Regions from separate parts of the Homo sapiens genome. Here region 2 is linked to region 1. The links are contacts of gene promoters, found by promoter capture Hi-C in blood cells and fetal thymus (Javierre and others, 2016). All regions are on one chromosome and are shown on one strand. The core of a region is centred on a gene start or on the middle of the fragment in contact, and the rest is flanking DNA. Distances in the headings are between cores, read along the strand shown.

Region 1 (7,374 bases), core at 2,480-4,979:
AAACAGGATAAACCCAAAGATATATCCATGCCGAGATATATCACAAACTTCTAAAAATTAATGACAAAGAAGAGTTATGAAAGCAGTTAAGAGAGAAATGATGCAGGAAATGTACTGATTTTTAGCATTAGAGAACTAAGCTGGTTACATTAAAACTACAGAGAACAGAAATATAAGTATTTGCAAGGACCTTAAATTCTTCACTTGATCTCAACTATTTTTAACTCAACTCAGTGAGCTAACATGCACAAGGCATTTACTAGATATCTACAAATTGTGCTGGGCATCAGAATATTTGCTAATGCCATTCTTGCTGTAACTGCTCCACAGCAGGTGTTATCCCTCATAGAAAATCAAGGAATTTTAGAATTGGAAAGATCCTGGATGGGCTTCAGCTCTGAAACTAATCTAAAAATGTCAGCATGCATGGGAATTTTCCTAAAGAAAAAGATGATAGCTTTCATCAGATTCTCAAAGGAACTGGTGGCCTAAAAATGTTAAGAGCCACCATAAGGGTTCTGTTCTTTTCAGGCAAAGCCATATAATCCAACCTAAATAGATGAGAAATGAGGCTATTTTTAGAGGAGGTGTTCCCCCATCATATCCATCAAAATTCCTGCATGCCACCTCAAGACAATTCTCTACTTTTAAGGGGAAAATAGGGAAATGGCAGTTTTCTAATTCTTTCTAGGCACTTTTGGAAATACACGTTGACCAAAGAATGTTTGCCTATAGTCTTATTTTGAACATTTTAAAAACAGTACCTGGAGGTGACTAAGTGACTACTGCACTGTGATTTAAAATGTACTTTAGGTTTGATTTCTCCCATCCCAATGGAAAAGTTGACATGCAAGGAAGCCGCAGCAGCCTTTCTACATCAGCACCCAATGGGCTGGAGTATAAGAGATGACAATTGTTCTATAACTTGCATCATTCCTTTTTCCTTCTTTAAAACACACAAAAAAATGCAGGTACAATCAAGCTATATTAATTATGAAATGTTTAACTGCCAATTAATTTGAATAAAGACTGTTAGTGCTTCCTCTAGCAAAAAATCGAAACAGCTGTGACAAAAACAAGTGCATTCAGTTTCCATGTCTTTATTCTGTGATGCTTCTTCACTCCTTGTACACTTTAACCAAAACTTTCATGCAAGCCAAGTCAGCTCACTCTAGAATTACACCATAAACAGGACTTTAGGTTGCTAGTGCCTGTTTTTGGATAAAAAATGAGGCTCCCAATGTCATCTGGAGAGCTACAGATTGGAAAATGCATTTTAGGAAAAAATTTCACTACTTACCTCCAGTGTGACCCTAAAGTTTGATTTCCTTAGACTACTTTATGCTGGCTACAACTTGAGAATCAAATGAATCACTGAGGACCCTTGTTAGACATGGAGTTCCAGGCCCCATCTCACAGCTATACAACCAGGAGAAAGACCAGGGAATCAAAAAGTCTTATCAAGTGCCTGGAATGATTCTTGGGCTCAAGCAAGTTGGCAGTCTTCTTAAATTTGTAATGTGCATACAAATTAACTTGGGCTTTGGAAACGAATGCTGTTCCTGATCCAATTGGTCTGGGTGGGGCCTGAGATTCTGCATTTCTAACAAGCCCCAGGTGATGTTGCTGGCTTGAAGACACTTTAAGTAGCTAGGCCAGAGAGGATATTTCGTTTGGCTGGCGTACAAATCAGTTTAAGCCATTTCATTTTCCTTCTATATTTCTAGATTTTCTATCAGGGGCTTCTCTGACCTTAATGCTGCCCAGTTCTCATTATGTCTCTTCAAGCTACCGCAATCAGTTAACACAAGGCATCCTGCCCTTCTCCACTTAGCTCATATAAAAATCCACAATGGATACAAACAGCCCCAAATAAGAAATGGACACGAAACATTAACTTATAACATAATGGGTTTATATTTAATATAGTACTTCTCATCAGGAGGATGTTACTCAGTTAATATAAAGTTTTTTTTCAAAACATTAAATCTCTTTTCCATGTCAATGTCTATAGTTTTTTTTTAACATTAAATTTTTTTCCGCATTTCAGTATTAGATACACTGAATACATTTTTCTAAATGTTTTTTCCCTAGAGATAAAAGTTTTCCTTTTTGCCTGACTCTCTGATATCTAAATATAATATTAACTTGGGAGACAACAAAACAAAAATCTAATTTAAAAGACTCCTCAACGATTCAGGAGGCAGTGATTATAACCGAACAGTGGTGATTTCCTAAGATTCTGGGCAAGAACTTCCTTCTTCCTATTTCACATGCTTTGAGAGAATTCTAAGATTATGAAATATTACTTATGTAAATTTCAGCCATCTTACTTCTTTGACTACCTAACTAGCAAATTATAGGCTGCATTTTTCTGTGCATTATTTGTTGTAAAGAAAACATTTTTTTTTCAATTTATAAATGTATGTTTGTTGCCATTTCATGGAAACAATGAAAAATGTGAAACTCCCTTATTTACTGATTCTTGGAACCTTTCACACACCAAATCTCAGGTTTAGCCTCTAAAGCGCAAAGGTTTTCAGGGTGAGGTTTGACTCAGTAGGCCTTTCAAAGTCACATCTGTCCATTTCTTTTTCGTGCATATACCCCCAAGCAGGCACAAATGCCTGTAATGCTGAGAACCACACCTAACAAAAGGGCGATTGCATCACCGGCTTCTACTGCTTCCACAACAGGCAGCACCAAAAGCAGTGACATGAGGACTAAGGACAACTGTGTTGAAACTGAGGTCATGATGTTGGAATCTTGAGGGCTGAAGGTTCCTAGAAATTAAACATGGAAACAAAAAGGAACCATTAAAAATTCCTCCCTTTTCAAATGACAAAATGAACACATGACAAATAACAGGCCAGCCAATCTTTTGGATACTTTATGAATCATTTCCAATCCATCTCCTCATCTTATAGGTGGAAAAACAGAGGGACGTTAAAGACAGTAATTTGAGGTTCATCTCCCTATCTCGTGATAACACTCTAAACCCAGGAATTTTCCACGATAATGCCAACACCTCGTGCATCAACCAAACAAAAATTGAACAGGAGTTCATAATTAAGAACAAACAGAAAAAAAGCACGAGCCACTAACTTGGAAACTTAAAATATCCTAGTGGGTAAAAATTGTACATTTTCTTAGGGTCTCTCCCATCCAAGAAATGCAGACAAATTTGGCAAAAGTCACACAACATATAACTCTGCGAAGTTGTGGGGAATTAATAAGACTTACCAAAGAAATGGTATATATAGAATTCTATCTGACTTGAAATTTTCCCTTCCTGGAGCTCCGGATGCTGAGATTAAGAGGTTCCACGTGACACGACCTATTATTAGCATGGGGGGTGGGGAGGGGGCGGAGAGAAGGATTTAAAAATTAATTATTATTACTATTATTATTTTAAAGAGGCAGCTAGAGTCAGTGCAGAGCGTGGAGGCCATATGGACGGTAGGGGGATAGGTAATGAGTTGAGAAAAGTCTGTCCAACAGGGAACTAGACTTAAAAGTTGGTCAGTTCACCCACACAAGAAAAGGTAAAAAGAAACAGAACAGAGATAATTTCATTTCAGGACTTGATATTAAGATTTGAAAAAGAATTCGTACTTTGGCCCGGCAAGGTCCAAATTTGCTCCTGTTTTACAAATACACTGGTGCAACCTAAGTATCCTTTGGAGACGAGTTCGTACATTACCTTCTAGGAAGCAGCCATTACAGGAATGGCGAGGAGGGCGGAGTCTCCAAACTACATTTCCCACAATCCCTGCCGCCGCCGACTCCTATGATGCCCCGGCGCGTTCCCCCTATAAGTAGCAGAGGGCGTGACGGTCACGCTCTAGCGGAGGCGAAGAGTCGCGAACGCGCGGGACTTCCTTTCCCTGCCCAACGTTTTACTATTAAATAGATGGTTTCGTGTGTTTATATAAAAGCTCACTTCAAAATAAAAGAAATGATAGCAAGTGTTTTCTACCCTGTTGAGTCTGTAAGGCGCACATGTAATTTTGTCTTTTTCTTCGACTGAAATGACACAGCGGGGAGAGAGAACCCAAGTACAGCCCTCTGTTCCGGGTGCTTTTAAACCAGTGGCTTCCAACGTTTCTGAAGCAGGAAATCTCTGTCACCATCTTCCTAATGAAACATATGCCATTTATTAATTTTTTAGTCAATGGGGAAAAAGCGCGGTTAATAAGACATATCGTAAAAGGTTAAAAAACATTTGTAGTGCAAAATAAAGTTTAGGAAAAATGGGTTTAGCCCTGTTGCAGAAGATCTCTCAGGATTCAGGTCCTAAAGTGACAATCTATTCAGGAGTGCACTGCGGTGATTCCTTCCCACCTATGTTTTTGTGAAACCTCAGCCCCAAATGTCCCTACATATTTGTGAAAAGATGTAAAAATACTGCTTTTAAATCATAAAACAAGAATTAGTTATTTGTATATGTAAGTCGTAACCTTTCTGAAAGGCGCTCTTTCAATTGTCTGCTAATTGTGAACTCCTTACTGAACCTTTCTAGTCATCTGATCTTCTGAACTCTTTCATATTTACTGATTTGAAAATTTATTTGCTATCCTTACATTATAAATTATTAATGATGAGGGTTGGGTGTGAAGCCACCTGCCTGGTCTGAAAGTCCCCTGGTTCAGTCTGTTAGATAATGCAGGTACGTTCAGTTCAATGCCAATAATTAGCATGTATTCTTGTGTTGTCGGTTACCCTTTTTCTTACACGTTCCTAGTCTCTCTAGCAAAGATTTATATTCTTGGCTCCTAACCGGCACCCAGCAGGTGCTCAGTAATGTTGCCTAATAATAATAATGATTTGACTAGATAAATATGCCAACAAGATCTTATGAGAGACCGAGAGGTGCCAAATAAACCAAACCAAGGTGACTAGAAAATTGGAAATCTGAGAATAACTGCACAATAACGTCAGCATTGTTTCTCTAACCTTGATTATTTTAACAAGGTTTTGTTCATTTCATCCTTTGTTTTGAGCTACTTTCGTGCCTTTGTAATCAATTATATTTGGAATAGGAGTTATATTTTTATAGCTTCCAAAATATTCTCTCATATCCTACTGTGAACATTTTGTTTTTCCCTACATGTTTATTTTTCCTTATGTGTTTATTTTAGTTAGCTGAAGTCAGCAGAGACTACTTTAAAGTTAGTATTGTTACAGACTTGTTTCTAGGCACGTCAACATTAAAGATAATGGTTTGGTTTTAAGTTTAAAGAGTCTGTAAGTGGCAAGAAACTTTCTCTTTAAATTATGATGGTTTTTATTAGTTTGTGAAATATATATTATATTGGGAAATGTCGATCTCGGGGGCGGGGTTCCAGTAATAGCTGATGTAGTTGCAAGGATTAATTTCTGGAGTACCATGAATATGATAATCTCCTTCACTGCTTTGACCTGCTCCTACTGTGTGATTTTTAACATGCCTTCACTCTATCTCAGTGAACTGTTATTTCCTAGCTGTAAACCAGGTTAGATATTTTGGCTAGATTGCTGACCAGGATAATAACTGCCATGTTGTACATGTTTGGTCTCTCTTCTAAAAAAGGCGATGATAGATGAGAAGCTGCTTCTGTGTCCGTCATCTGCCAACTACAAGTTCTGCCTGTGAACATCTCTGGTAGCAATGTGAACCACCAATTTTCTGAAGCAATGCTACACTCCCATTTTTCCCAAGCTGTATGAATGTTTCTACAGGCTTCTATGTAGTTGTTCTTTTGACACTAAGTGTCTAGGGTTATAGAATCCATAATTTAGTCTTTCGATTCAAACAAATCTGCACCTACACCATCCTTTACTGAAATAGAGATCAATGGCACCAATGATACTTAAAGCACTTTACTTTAGTTACTTACCTGAGCAGTGGAGAGCAAAATTTTCCATCAGTTGTTACCCAGAAATGGTTTCAGGAAAAAAAAAAAAAAAAAAAAGGAAGTGGCTTCTGCTCATTTTTCTGTTAGAAGTGAGTCATTGGTAGGCCCTGAAGGAAGGCACCTCTGGGATCCATCAGAGGATGCAGGACAGGCCAATATCAGGATTTTGCAGTGACTGGTGTGTGTCAGGGAATTTATAAAACCCAGACTTCCTCATTAGCAATTGAGCCAAGCCAAGTGAGTCGAAACATTTTACTGGAGCTTCACAATTAAAAAAGACCAACCCAGACCTAGTCAGTATTTCCCATCATTAATAGGACTAATCACTGAGAATGTTAGAACTAACTACTCATTAGGTCAAAAGGATGGGAGAAGCTACACTTTCCAGAGCTGTTCAACTACTGCAGAAAACGTCTCCTGAGGCTAAGTACCTCTTGTACCAGCATTTACAGAAGTGTATGGGAGAGGTGCAAAAGGTCATTTTGGGCAAAGTTCCAGGCACCACCTAGAGCCCATTATGTATGTGGTCCTTACTCCCACTGGTGATCGTCATTTGTCTGTGGGAATCAATCACACACGGAAGCTTGTGGAGGATGGGGAAGTAGAGAAACCCCACTCATAGGCATGACAGATTCCACTTTTATTTATATTGCTGATCTTCTTGGAGTAGGTTAAAAATTACTGGATATGACAAAGTTCTAGTTTTGAAAAGTTGTGACATTATCTATATAGCACTTTATCCGTGGTAATGGACTGATTAAGACAGGGTTTGGAGATCATCAGAGGTTGATTCCAAATTTACCTCTGCCACTTTCTAACTCTGTAAACCTGTGCGAATTATCTAACTTCCTGAAACTTGAGTTTTCTCATCTGTAATAAGGGGATCACCAATCTTCATAGGGTTGTTAATGCAGATTGAATGAGGTGACATGTAAAGTGGCTCAGTGTGGTCAGTGTAAGTGACACTATTATTGGCAACAGACGACCTTTCAGAGATGGAAGTAGCTGATCAAATAATATTTATTAAGTGCTACACAAGGAAATTTAAAATCAGAATTAGCTTACATCATGAGAGATGAACAAACATTTATTATGGAAAAAAAGATTTTCTTAGAAAACATGGTTTCATGCTGCATAGGGTCAGATTGATTGATTGACATTTATATTTAACAAACACTTAAAATAGTGACTAATATGCACCAGTAACTATTCCACACATTAATAAATATAAGCCCCTCTACTCCTTAAAATAATCCTGTGAACTGGATACTATTATTATTCTCTGATGAAGAAATTGAGGCATAGTTAAGTAATTTACACCAGGTCACATAACTAGTGAGTGGTATATATCCAGGAAATATGACAAACTTTATACTTTTAATCATTGTCCACATACTGTTATGTGGAAAATGTCCACAGGATCAAAAACCATTTTAATTTTCTTTTTAATAAGGTGTTCTAATGTCGCTTAGGAAGC
Region 2 (7,374 bases), core at 3,275-5,774, 1.4 Mb before region 1:
AGAAGGCTGAGGTAGTGCCATCTAGAGAGTGAGGGGAGGGAGAATGGGTGTGATAGGACATCCTTGCCGAATTTCTTTATTATAGACCCAAGCTCTCTTAACACTCACCATGCAATTACTAGTGTTTTCCCCCCTTGGAAATAAACTGGGACTGTTAACTGTTGTTCTAGACTAAGACATATCAAGACTTTCCCGGGCTTTTATCAAAATGAGAAAATTTACATAATTGACACAAAAGGGACTTGTAAACTGTTAATAATACCTGTAAAATTCCTTTTAGAATTCTATATAAAAATTGTTTCTATTGGCTCCTTACTGCTGCTACTAAAGAAGAAGAGCTTGACTGTTTAACCCTTCACAAACTTATAGGATTAAAAGTAGCTGGTCTCATTGCTAATCACTTCTGCACTAGTAGTGCAGAAGTACAAGTAAAAGAGCAGATCTGGATCTGGACCTCCTTGAAAACCACATCCGGAGTTTGCAACCAGGTCCAGATCCAGATTTGCTCTTTTATATAAAGAAAAAAATAAGCAAGAGAAGTGAAACCAGCGTAGTGGCATCCAAATATTGTATAATTCTTTTTCAATCTCTTAAAATGCATCATCATCATACTTGCATATAGTTCTATAAAGCCTCTGCATAAAATAGGAGCCCCTTGCAACATCCCAGGTCACCAGCCATTTTTACTCCTCAGAGACAACTATTTTCAATTTTTAAAATTATTTCTTAATGTTTACCTTATATCTCTAAATAAAAAAGTATCTTTTATGATACTTTTTGATTGTCATTAAGTTTTATGCATTATCTACTAATATCCCTTTATGGAACATGAGAATTTATTTTATTCTCCACATACATGAATTCCTTTACTCTCATCCTTCCAGTATAATTATATGATAATTTGGGGCTAGATCAATTATGTTTTACATTTCCGTAACTATGTAGATATGATAAATGGCTGACTCATATAGTATAGTATAGTTACATTTACTTTCTTGTATAAAAGGTTTCAGTTCTTTCTGGAGTTATTAGCTTTTTCCACTTGCACAGCTTTCTAGGTACCTAACTCACCCATCCCTTAACTCTGTTACAAAAGTGTATGTCTCCCTTTAGTAAGGTTCAAACACAATGAGCACTTCATCGCCTTCATCTTCTTGGATGGAGACTGTTCATTCTGTGAGCAGACTGGGCTGTTTAGTGTGGTTGTTCAGATCATCATCCTCACTTCTAGGCTTTTGGCTCCTTAATTGATTGTGAATGACAGAGGTAAACTCTAGATAAGTGATACATGGGTTCAGAATGTTGGGGATTTTCTAGTATTCTATAGAAATAGGATCTAAAATGTCTTAGCAATCTCTTCTCTGGGATGAAGTGTTTTAGTAGGTGCCATCCTAAATTTAAAGCCTGTTACTTTTCTTTTCATCTCCCCTTTTCATTTCCTTTATCAGGATATCAATATCCTTAGCACAAGATTCTATAAATAAAATACTTCATTCACTTATTAACCTTTTCTCAAACTTTAGGTAAGGTAGCAGTATTCCCCCCCCCACCCCACCAACATATTAAATAAGTAAACACACATTGATATCCAATCTTGAAAAAATTGCCATAAAAATATATTACTGGTGGCACTAAAACTGAAATAAGACTCTCTGAACCCCCCTCACTTAAAATCCTTGCCTGGCTGTTTCTATTCATCCTAAACAATTATACTGTGATTTGCACCCAATCCTACTCAAAGCCTGCTCATTAAAAGATCCACCTTAAACAAAACTCCAGAATTTCAACAAAATCTGATCTTGCCCTTTGCCATAAGACACTACCAAAGCTCTGTTGAGGTGGGTTTCTCTCCTTTATGGTAGGGAACAATGAACTCAGCCCTGTATCGTCAATAGATTGTGTTGATGATTGTGTTTTTGAGGAACTAGCAGTTAACAATTTAGAAAAACTATGTAATATATATGTGTAGAAAAAGGCAAAAGGAATATGTAAAAAGTAGTATTAATAGTTATGTCAGGGGATTGGTATTTTGTTATATTTCAAACCTATTTTTATGGTATTCTTTTTTTTTTTTTTTTTTTTGAGATGGAATCTCGCTCTGTCGCCAGGCTGGAGTGCAGTGGCACGATCTCAGCTTACTCAACCTCCGTCTCCCAGGTTCAAGCAATTCTCCTGCTTCAGCCTCCTGAGTAGCTAGGACTCAGGCGTGTGCACCATGCCCACCTAATTTTTGTATTTTTAGTAGAGATGGGGTTTCACCATGTTGGCCAGGATGGTCTCGATCTCTTGACCTTGTGATCTGCCCACCTCAGCCTCCCAAAGTGTGGGGATTAATATGGTATTCTTACATAATGAGGGTTGGGCTTAATAAGTAAGAATTCATTTCAGTACAAACCACCTTTCAATGTGTACAGATAAAACAGAGGCAAAGCTATGCAACTTGTTATTCTCTTTGTTGTGTTTTGTAGAACAATTAGTAACAATCCAGGGAGAAACCTACTTATGTAGGAAACTGAGCTCTTCTTATTGTAATTGTGCTTGTAGAATCCAAATACTGATGGGTTCAGTTGTAATATAAATAACCCAAAAATATTCTGAAGTCACTTAGTTAATGTTGAGAAACAATCAGGAGGACACTGACAATGGCCTTTTTTTTAAAATTTTTTTGAGACAAGAGTCTTGCTCTGTTACCCAGGCTGGAGTGCAGTGGCATGATCTCAGTTCACTGCAACCTCCGCCTCCTGGGTTCAAGCGATTCTCCTGCCTCAGCCTCCCGAGTAGCTGGGATTACAGGCACCCGCCACCACACCCAGCTAATCTTTGTATTTTTAGTAGAGATGGGGTTTCACCATGTTGGTCAGGCTGGTCTTGAACTCCTGACTTAAGGTGATCCAACAGCCTCAGCCTCCCAAAGTGCTGGGATTACAGGCATGAGCCACTGCGCCCAGCTGACAATGGCCTTTAAATGGATTTTTGTATTCTACGAGGCTGAAGCTGTAGACAGTGGTTTTCTTGGCACTGAGTTACATAAATGTCTTCAACCTTATACAATATTGACACATTTCACCAAGTTAAAAGCCAGGCTTTATTAATCGAAATCTTGTAGTCAGTGGGTTTTTCAGTGTATGTCACATGTATATTTTCTATCATTTTATGAAAACCAGGGAGAAGAGTTGGCATGCAGATAGATTTTTACCACAGCTGTCAAAACCAGCATTTAACCATGCCCTTATATGCTTGGAAGTTATCTGTTTTATGTCAAGTTTTCTGATGCAAACACATTTTGATGGTTTGACTTGTTAAGTTGGCTCTGGTTAGGCCAATGAATGGTCAGCCAACCACGTAAATGTTACCCTTTCTATGGGATATTAACCCATACTGTTTGTTACCTTTCTGGTGATTGTTCCCTATGGCATAAGTGAGCCGTAGTGAGTGTGAAATGCATCTACGTGGCAGGACAACACAAACAGGATCTATCTAAAAAGAAGTCTGGAAATCTCACTATAATAAGATCAAGAGCCGCTTCTATTACAAGTAAAGACATGCTGATGATAGGAGTAAAGACAGAAATATTAAGATTAATCTGGTAATTTTATTTAATATTTACCATTCAGCAGCAACCAACATGAACATGTGGGCTAACAGAATCTCTTAAAATGTTCTGCTATGTAGCTGCTTCAGAAATACACACACATGATAAATTCAAGATAAATTCAACTGCTCACTGCCAAAATTTTTTTTAAAAAATGGCTCCAAGAGCAAATAACACTGATTTATAATGTGCCCAAGCACTAGTCAACAAATCTATTAAATTACACAGGAAAAGGAAATCAAGGAAGCTTTGTTATCTTATGCATGTCATCTTATTTAAATGGAAGGTTTTACTTCTTTAAAGCAACAGAAATATGGAGCTTCACATATATATGTATATATATATGAATGTGGTTACAAACACGAAGTGTTATCAAAAGCAAAAGCTAGTTCAAAAAATTTCTGACTGCAAAACTTGCAAGATACAAAGCTAAAATGCATATGTTCCTTTTCTCAATTATGAACACTTTCACTAAACATAAATATTTAACATATATTAATTTTTCCGACATTCAAAATTGTAAAGTCAATATGGCAGAATTGTTAAAAGCACATATGTACAAATATTCTTTTTCCATACGTAAAGTATTTGGCATAATTATAACAATCATACTGCATCAACAACTGTTTGCGTTTATTTTTACTTTTTTTTACACATAATGGTATCTCTTATTAAAATTAACCAGTTATATACAAAAATACTTGAACATTTATTATAGAAAACCTCTATAACCAGCCTCAACAGCATATACCTGCTGAATGGTTTCATTAAGAGAATATAAAAAAGTGGTCACTGCCTTCCAGGTAAGCTACCAACAAAACAAACATGGTTAAACTAAAATGAGCTTCCCAACAAAAGAGGGAAAATATTTAACAGTATGATTTAAAATACAGTTCATATCTATTGTCAATTGAGTGTTATAAACAGTCAGTAAAAGAAAAAACAAAGATATAAAATACATTACTACATACAAGGTGCTTTTTTCACACTTCTACAACTGGCATTAGCATCCCTATCTAGACCTAAGATGCTATGTTGCAATATTCAAGCTAGAGAAGTCTACAGCAATCCTCCTTCAAGAGAAAGACGACAGGTCAGCTAAGACAAACTCCACTGGTAAAAGTGGAGAGTCGTGAGGAATTTTTTATTTTGTGCAGGACTGAAAGTTAATGCCCTTGCCTTTTATAAGTCCTTTTGCCATTTAATCGTGCTAATACATTTTCACTAAGTTTTTTTTTTCTTCACTTAAGCTATTAATTTAATACTGTCTGTATTGATTCCTGAATTCTTGCTAATGGGGCACAGTCATTTGTGCCTCATTAATACTTCAGCATTTGCTCTTGTTCAATGACAAATTTTATATAGGAAACTATCAAGAAAGGAAGCGCAAAATTCAAGTAAACATTTCTTCTGGAGCCTCTTGCTTAATCTAGCTGATTGGAACTCTGAAGCAAATTGCACCTTGAAAAGAAATACAGTAGATACCACGGTGTCAGGGTAGTAAGGGATTTAGCTACCAATTCACAAAATAGAATTTTACGAATGTAGACAGCAGTCAAACAGCAAAAGCAACCTTAAAGAAGTATTTTGTTTCAAGAACAAAACAATTTCCAGTCCCAAGCTTTGCAACCCCTTAAGTATACTGTCTTGCTCGCCTGCTTGAACTTTAATTCTGATGATCTGCACTGATAAACCTTGCCTTATTTACAGAAGTCTTCTAAAATAAGGACCACTGTGTTAGGATGTGCACTGACTTAATAAGCTTTCTCCAAGTATCAAGTATTCAGTAAAAACGATACAACATTGTCACACATTGTATCGTTTGACAATATCGTATTGGTTTTAAGATTAAACTATATAAAAAAAAGTGAACATAAAAAGGTACAAAAGGAGTCTTTATCACTATTTACCACTTCCAAATGAGAAACGTTTTAATGAAATTCAGCCATACTTCATTTAACATCTGGCGTTTTAGATCAGCAACTTTTAATATTGTGCAACATGATATTTAATAAGCAAGTTTTAATTCCATTCATCGAAGGAGCTGAGTAAGTTATTAAAGTGCCTACACTAAATGTCTTCTCATCATACTTCTTATTTTGTAAACGGGCAAAGAATGCATCGCAGGTACATAGAAAAGTGACTTATAACTGAGAGACCTTGCGGGGCAGGGGCCTGGGCCGCGGGCCGGGGTCAGTCCTCCGGGCCCCATTCTCCAGGTGGCTGGATCGCGCTGCCAGAGGCTTGGGGGGCAGCGCGGGCGGCTCCGACGTGACGGGGATGGAGAGGCTGTGAGGTAGCGGGACGGGGCGCCGCAGAGTCCGCTCGTAGACGCTGTACGGGGGCGGAGTCTTGCTCTCCTTGCGCACTGGCTCCTCCCCGCCGTAGCTCGGCACGGGCACCGGCACTGGCACCGGCAGGGGGGCCGACTGTTCATTCACCTGATTTTCAAAGCCTGAGGTTTCCGACGTGCTGCACCGGCTGAGAGAAGAAATCCCACTGCTGTAGCTGCCCGACAAGACAGGGGAGTTGGAGATGAGTCCTGGCGAGTGGTACTCCACTGGAGAGGGGGTGAAAGACTGCACAGAGCCCTGCTCCGGGGAGAAGGAAACGAGAGGGAGACACAGCATTGAGTCGTGAACGCAGATGCGCTGAAATGTACGCCCCGACGCGGAGGCCCCGGCCCCCAGCACCCCCAAAGCCGGCTGCAGCAGGAGATGCAGCCTTTAAGGAGGTGATTAAGGTAAAAGGCCATTATGGTGGATCCTAATCCAAGCTGACTGGTGTCCTTATAAGAGACATTTGGACACACAGGGAGACGTCAGGAATGCGACACACACAGACCTTGCAGGAAGGGCGGTCTGCAAGCCCAGGAGGGAGGCCTCGGGGAAACCAAGGCTGCCACGCATTGATCCTGGACTTCTACCTGCCAGAATTGAGAAAATACATTCCCAGTGTCTAAGCCACCCAGTTTGTGGTATTTTGTGAGGGAAGCCCGAGCAGACGAATACACTCACACTCAAATTTGAGTGTTGTCCTTTGTAGCACTGAAAATGCACACCAGACGTTTATCTGCGAGGGCCACCAGTCCTCGAGTTCAGTTCACCGCCCAGTTTACTCCTTATCATTTTCAGATAGAGGAGAAAGGAGCTGGGCATGGTGGCTCACGCCTGTAATCCCAATACTTTAGAAGGCCGATGCAGGGATCACTTGAGGCCAGGAGCTTGAGACCAGCCTGGGCAACATGGCAAAACCCCATTTCTACTAAAAATCCAAAGGGTTAGCTGGGCGTGGTGGCTCATGCCTGTAATCCCAGTTCCTCTGGGAGGATCACCTGAACCTTGGGAGGTTGAGACTGCAGTGAGCCGTGGAGCCACCAGTGCACTCCAGCCTGGGCAACACAATGAGACCCTGTCTCAAAAAATAAATAAAGGTATCCACCAAGATAATCTGGAGGCACACATTAGTCCTATAGTTTGGAAGAGAGGGAACTGGCCAAAAACCCCAAAAACCTAAAAACGCCATAAAACCTTTGGGGGCGCTATTCACTTTCCCAGCTCAGCAGGGCATGCTGCAGGCCAGGAGCCAGGGCCGCTGAGCACACTCAGCTCAGAAGACCCAGAGAGCTCAGGAGGAGGAGCAGAGGCACCCGAGGTTCTGCACCTGATTTCTCCAGCCATCACTCCAGACTCCAGACTCCTGAGCTGAACTGGCGAACTGGCAGCCCTCGGGGCTGTAGCCTGTGATGTGAGCTGTTTCCTCAGCAGTTTTTTAAAAACCTA

The links. The method cuts DNA at HindIII sites, captures the fragments that hold promoters and counts their contacts. A CHiCAGO score of 5 or more calls a contact.
Region 2: a contact is called between a fragment that was not itself captured here and the fragment with the promoter of SMIM30 in region 1, in 1 of 17 cell types (neutrophils). The highest score is 6.0, in neutrophils.

The regions. Positions count from the first base shown.
Region 1 is chr7:113,114,825-113,122,198 of GRCh38, forward strand. SMIM30 (small integral membrane protein 30) reads right to left here and starts at 3,730. Exons shown (of 3, transcript NM_001352688.2): 1 at 3,704-3,730; 2 at 3,244-3,337; 3 at 1,894-2,783. The coding sequence starts at 2,754. The coding sequence ends at 2,575. All of the region lies in intron 2 of LOC107986837, which reads left to right. RefSeq lists enhancers at 3,501-4,095, 3,990-4,129. The HindIII fragment of the contact is 11,880 bases long and covers 1-6,478 here.
Region 2 is chr7:111,722,538-111,729,911 of GRCh38, forward strand. DOCK4 (dedicator of cytokinesis 4) reads right to left here. Exons shown (of 53, transcript NM_001363540.2): 53 at 3,573-6,183. The coding sequence ends at 5,737. Among named protein-coding and RNA genes, the nearest start is that of DOCK4-AS1, 82 kb to the right of the region's middle. The HindIII fragment of the contact is 1,374 bases long and covers 3,838-5,211 here.